2 separate regions of the Homo sapiens genome follow, and region 2 is linked to region 1. Evidence: promoter capture Hi-C in 16 types of primary human blood cells and fetal thymus (Javierre and others, 2016). All regions are on one chromosome and are shown on one strand. The core of a region is centred on a gene start or on the middle of the fragment in contact, and the rest is flanking DNA. Distances in the headings are between cores, read along the strand shown.

Region 1 (3,184 bases), core at 205-2,704:
GAGGAGGGGTGTGTGCAGGGTCGCCCTCGATGCCGCAGCCGGGGCCAGTGGGCACGAATGCGGCCCCACGCCAGGCTTGGCCTCCGAACCCGCTAGGCGCGCGCGCACGGTAGAAGCGCGCGCCTCCGTCCCTCGCGAGCGCGCCCCCCACCCCTCTCCGTCGCACGCGCCGAGCCCCGGCGCCCCCGCCCGCCCCGCGCTCCCACAGCCCGAGCGCCGCTCAGCTGACCCGCGGGCGCCAGACGCGGCGGCTCTCAGCTCGCGAGCGCAGCTGCGGCTGCGAGGGCCTCTCAGGCCGACACTCCCCCCGCGCCCCTCCCCCACCCGGCCGGGCTCCGGACCCGCCGCGCGCGAGCCCGCGGCCGCTTCCCCCGCGCCGAGCGAGGAGGCAGGCTGCGGCGGCGAGAGGCGGCTGCGCGGCCATGGGCGCGCCAGTGTCGCCCTAGGGCGGGCGCACAGACCACAGCCGGAGCGGTGGTGGCAGCCTCCGCAGAAAGCCTTCCCGGGCGGCGGCGGCGGCGGCCCCTGGAGCAGCGCGGCCGGGATGAGCGGGAGCTGCGCGGCGCCCGGCCCGGGCTCGGGCTCCTCCCCGGCCGCCTGCCGCTTCGCGCACTACTTCGTGCTGTGCGGGATCGACGCGGACAGCGGGCTGGAGCCTGACGAGCTGGCGGGTAAGGCCAGGGCTGCGGCGGCGCTGAGCCCCCTCAGGGGCGCGGGGGACGCTGTGGGGACGCGCGGGAGGCGGGGTGCAGGCTCCAGACAAAGTCAGCTCCCGGTGGCGCCCTCCCGCCGCTTTCTGGCCGAACTGGCGCTCGGGCGCGATTTAATGACATTGTTATTTATTCCGCGTGCGGGCTTTGCGGCTGCGCCCACCGGGGCTTTCGCCTCCAGGCGCTGGGTTATTAATAACAGGCGCGGGGGTGGCCCCAAGGGCACGGACCCCGCCTGGCGCGCCGGCCCCTTCGCTTGCAGCCGCACTCGGAGGCGGCCGGTGAGTCACCGGGCGCGCGGGCTGCCCCCCGACCGCCGTGCCTGCCTCCCACCCGCCAGCCACCCGGCCCCGGCCGCGAAGTTTCGGCCCCGCACGTGACGCGGCTTTCGGGCCTCTTCGGGAGACGGGGAGTCGGACTCAGCTCGGCTCCCGCCGGGGTAGCGTCCGCGGAGGAGCCGGTGGCCGTGCGGAGCGAGCGCGGGGCGGGGACCGGTCGGACTCTGCCCTCTGCGCCGCCTGCCGCTCTGCGGTGCCGGCCAAGTCACCTTTTGGAATCCTGTGGATTTGGCCGCGTCTGGGAGCTGGCAGGGACCTTTGGACGCTCGGGACCCAGCACCGCGCTTTGTTGACACTGCCTACACTGTTCCCGAGTTTAAATTCAGTTGGGTGCACCGTGTGTTAGTGCCTGGTTTTCCCGGAGGGGTACCGGTCCTTCCGCTTGACTCATTTGATGGCGCAGTGCGGGGCTGTGCTGGGCAAACGACGCCGTTAAAAGGGGCCGCTAAAGGGCGATGGGCGGGGGCAGGGCAGCGGAGTGCGCAGTGTCGAGAGGAGGCCGGGGAGAAACAACTGATTTCATTTTTCACGCCTGTTCCTTTCTGCTTGCCTCCGCGGGATCTGAATCTTGATTTGTTGTTGTTGTTAAATGGGTGAGAGAAGTGACATCTACCGCCTGAACTTTGTGTTAAAGACTTAGGTCATAGCCTTTCAGAACAACTTCCTTTGGACAAATAATTCCTTATTGATTGCACTAACGTAAATTTTTCGCTTTTCCTTTGGTGGGGGTGGGGAGACTGGGAAGAATATATTAAATAATAAACAATAGTAAACAAAACTGTTCAGCCTTAAAATACAGTCCCCATCAACCCACGTCTTGGCTATCTTCTTCTTAACTCAGCTTCAGAGCAAAACATTTTCTTTTTTTCATATTCTTCGGAGGTAGAAACACAAAACATTTTCAACAAAAACTGTAAGTCTAGTTTTAGTTAAAAAAAAATTTGGAGAGATAATAGAATACCAAGTTTTTCCGTATGTGTAATTATGTAATCACATTGTTTCTTCAACTAAGATTTCATGTACATGTTAAGAATGGCTTTGTTAAAGGATATGAAGAAAAAATGTCTGCAGAGAGATTTGGAGAGATTCTTCTCGAGATTGGTGAAGGAATATTGTTATTTTTCTAGACTCCTTTCTTCCCTAAAGATCCTAAACATTTGTGGCACCAGGGTCACTTGGAGGCCTTCTGTCAGTGATGACTAATGAAAGGAAAAAAGCCTGTATTTTTCTTTTCCGTTTGCCTACTGAAGCTAAAACTGTACCTTTTAGGTGTGACCTAGGACTCTTTAGGCACAGAGAGAATGATGTTAACAAAACCATCAATTAGACTTTAATGCATTTTTAAGAAACAAACTATGATGTCTCTTTTTGCAAAACTGTGTGAGTGTGGGTGATTGGGATTTCTGCTTCTCATAATATTTAATGTATTCAGGTAATAATGTATTTTGCCTTGTAATATTTCAGTATCATTCATCCAACAGTTTTGAAAGCATCTATCTGTAGTCGGTTTTTTAGGCACTGGGGACAGCTGTGAAGAAAGCAGTCAGAAATCCCTGCCATCATGGAGCATACGTTCTAGTGTAAAGAGATAATGAAAATACAATCATCTCTCCGTAACCATGGGGGATGGATTCTAGAGTGTCCCCCACACCAAAATCCTCGGATGCTGAAGTCTCTTATAATAAAATGTTGTAGCATTTGTATATAACCTATGAACATTTTCCTGTACACTTTGTCATCTCTAGATTACTTACAATACCTGTTACGTTGTAATGTTATGTAAATAGTTGTTATACTGTATTGTTTAGGGAATAATGACAAGAAAAGAAGTCTGTACATGTTCAGTACAGATGCAACCATTGTAGGCCTAACTACATTTTCAATCTGTGCTTGGTTGAATCTGTGGATGCGGAGTCCACGTGAAGTGCCGACTGTATATAGTTCTCCAGATGTTAATAAGTGCTATGAGGAAAAATAAAGCAGGGGAGTGGATTTAGGGACATGCCAGCAGAGTGGTGGGATGGTGGGGTTGTGATTTTAAATAAGATGGTTAGGGAAGGCCTCACAGGGAGGGTGACATTTGAACAGAGCCTTGAAGGACATGAGGAAGCAGGCCAGATGGATCACCTGGGGGCA
Region 2 (3,184 bases), core at 416-2,915, 390 kb before region 1:
ATTTTAAATATAGTGATAACACAGCCATCAACTGTTTCAAAGAGGACAATTAGTTGACCCATTTCCATATGAACAAAAAGACTTCAGTATTCATCATTACTTATCCTCTAACATTCAGAACAAAATTTCAAGTTCACAGGGCTTTCAAATTACAAGTCCAAAGGAGAATTAACAAAACCAAGACTCTTACATTACTAGCTACTTGACACTTTTCTGACATTCCCACAAGGAATGTGGAATGTTTTTCACAGTACAGCCTTCTTGGTACTAACTGAAATATTTCTATCTGGCAAGTTTTACATATAGCTCGTCATGACGACCAATTTTCTACAATTTACAATAAGGTGGCAATGAACACAAAACAAATATTGCCCAATGAAACATTGGTTTACCAGGCAAAACAAATACTAGGTAGTGGCATAACACATTAAAGTCTTTCCCAGCAGCCCAAGACAGCATGAGAGGTGCTAGCCCAAATATTGACCTACGACTCTTTACAATATTGTAGACACCACCAAGAAAATCATACTGGACCTTGCAGAGGGGCTTGCTCCTTCCTAGGATGAGGCTTTACATCCTTCCGTTCTTCCACAGAGTTTGTATTCTTTAGTAAGATATCTGGACATAATTTAAACTCCAGCATGTTTGATTTTTCTGTGTTACCTTTCACCGGTAAAAAGGTCTTATGTTTATTTTCCTGTCTCTTATCTTTATGAAGCTTCCTGGGTGAACTTTCTAATTTGGTGAGAGAAATGCTTTCACGTTCAGTGCATTTAAACCCAACTCTATTCAGATATAATTTCTTTTGATCCTTTACTTGGGGAGGCATTTGGCTGAATTGAGCTTCGTTGCTTATATTGGTTAATTTGTCTAATTTAGTCTTATCAATCCATATTTTATCAGGCTGCTTCCCACCAACTTTTTCTTTAACATTCCTTAGAATGTTGTATGTTTTAGACTCCTGAGAATGGTGGATTTTGAGGTTTTTACCATGGCTTGTCAAGCCATTTAATGATTCTTTAGAGGTCTGCACGCCGCTGCTGTGTTTCTCATTTGATTTCCCACAACTTTCAACCTGCACGGCAAGTTTACTTGGTCTCATATGTTCAGAATCACATGGCACGTTTTTCACACAGATTTTCTTCGATGCTTTATTACTCAGAGCTTCTTTATGCTTCTGCCTTTGTAAATACTCCTTAGGAGTTAGAATTCTACTAAATTTAGATGAACTCGCTTTCGTGTCTACAGACTTAGTATTTGATACCATCTTTTCTTTAACAATGGCTCTTTCGTTTGGGTTTGACAAAGAGTCACCTAATTTGAATGTAGCTCCCACACTTCCTTTCTGTTCTTGTTTATCATGTTTCTTTTTCTTTACTTCCATATCTAATACGTTCCCTTGGTCTAACTTTCGTTTTTGTTTGAAGCTAACTGATTTGAGTTTCAATTTTATCTTTTCTGGTGATAATGACTGTCCCAAAGAACTATGCTTCTTATACACATCTTTATTTGGCAAAAAAGCTGTTTTTGTTTTTAGTGGACGTGAGTTCTGTGTTACATGTTTCTTCTGTCGGGTTTCCTGAGAAGCTTGTTCATAAGATGCTGTCATTTTATTACTGGAGTGAAAGGTTACCTCGTGAAACCTCAATTTTTTTCTTTTGTGATTTTGCAAGGGATTTAGTTTATCACATTTAGATGAAAACTGACCAGCAACTAATTCTTGTTCTGTCCTTGGTAAGCTTTTATGTTTTGTTTTGGGTGTATCTTTTCTACTGTCGTCTTGTAGTTCAGGAAAATGACTTTTCCCATCTGGAGGAGTCTTTGGATTATTTACAAGGCTCTTAAATTGAACAACAGTGACATCTCTATCAGAAGTTCTCTCTCCTTGTTTACAACTGTTGGTATCCAAAGGAGAACACTGCTCTTTTTGTTTCTCTTCCTCTGAAGATGAGTTCTTGATGGAATTACACTGACACTGGGGTACTCCTTCGTAAACCATGGAGAGCCAGCCCAATGCACAGCAGTGGATATCATCTTTCTCAGAGTCCAGTATCACAGAATCACGACTTTGTCCAGCTGCAGGTGCCTGCAGGTCACACTGGCTAACTACTTCTGTGATGGGCTCTTCTTTCTGAGGTTCTGCCAACTTGTCTACTACATAGGGTTGATCATCCTGTTCAGGAAATATTTCTTTCATTTGCTCTGAGCTTAATATTGTAATTTGTATTTGATCTGCTGGGTCTTTGGAGTCAGAACTGGTTTTATCAGCAGTTTGATCTTCTGAGGTCTGGTATGTAGTTTGCTGGCCCACAGAACCTTCACGTGTATTCACAGCCTCAATGCCATAAGGAAACTCTTTTAGAAGTTCTGACAGCTGGTCATGTAGGTATAAGACAGGTGCCTTATCACTGTGGATTTCATTTCTTGCAGGATCTTGGGGAGTATAGTTGCTGGATGCATCTATTTCCTGAGGGTAAATATCCTCCTGAATAGCAGCTGACGAGCACGTATCGTTAGCTGTGCTTTTTTCAGTGGCATGCTCCAAACTACTTTTCTCTAGAATAACTCTGTTTGTTTCAAGATTGTTAAAAGATGACTCTAAGGGTGGCTCTGACTTTGACTGATCACATATTTTATGTGAAACATCTGTGCACTGTACAGGTTTATCTTTTTGAAAACCAAAGTCTTTATTTTCAGTGGTATTATCTAATTGTTTTTCTGGTTCTCTGCTGCCAATCCCTTGCTGATTGGGTAGAGAAGGTTTCTGTGGCTCAACCATTTTCAAGGGAAGAGAGCTGAATATCTTTGCTATTTGGGAATTGTAAGAGGTATCACCTTCAACCAGAGAACAAATATTGTCAATCTGTAATGTATCACTACTCACAACAGTACTATTCCTTGACTCCTGTGAGATTTGCTGATCGTTCATAGGAGAATGGATAGCTGACTCTAATTTGTTATGCTTTCCTTGATTGACATTAGGTGTGACTTCTGAATTACCATTAGTTGACTCATTCTGCTTTTCCTTCTGAGTTAGTGGAAAAATCTTGGTTGATGTTGCTGTACTTGCTACTGGTCCACTAACATCAACTTTCAAAGCAGCAGTTGCCTTTGCATTTTCTGCCAATTGATTTTGTAAACTACAAACACTGCCTTCTTTAATAACGGGATACACTGTTTCAGG

Evidence for each region. The method cuts DNA at HindIII sites, captures the fragments that hold promoters and counts their contacts. A CHiCAGO score of 5 or more calls a contact.
Region 2: a fragment that was not itself captured here is called in contact with the fragment with the promoter of DENND5B-AS1 in region 1 in 1 of 17 cell types (total B cells); the score reaches 5.8 in total B cells.

What each region holds. Positions count from the first base shown.
Region 1 is chr12:31,588,193-31,591,376 of GRCh38, reverse strand. It overlaps DENND5B-AS1 (DENND5B antisense RNA 1), which reads right to left and starts at 1,454. Exons shown (of 3, transcript NR_046909.1): 1 at 1,258-1,454. DENND5B (DENN domain containing 5B) reads left to right here and starts at 241. Exons shown (of 21, transcript NM_144973.4): 1 at 241-671. The coding sequence starts at 545. RefSeq lists silencers at 91-380, 451-720, 871-1,210 and an enhancer at 1,641-1,720. The HindIII fragment of the contact is 7,998 bases long and covers 1-3,184 here.
Region 2 is chr12:31,983,308-31,986,491 of GRCh38, reverse strand. RESF1 (retroelement silencing factor 1) reads right to left here. Exons shown (of 6, transcript NM_018169.4): 4 at 535-3,184. Among named protein-coding and RNA genes, the nearest start is that of RESF1, 25 kb to the right of the region's middle. The HindIII fragment of the contact is 152 bases long and covers 1,590-1,741 here.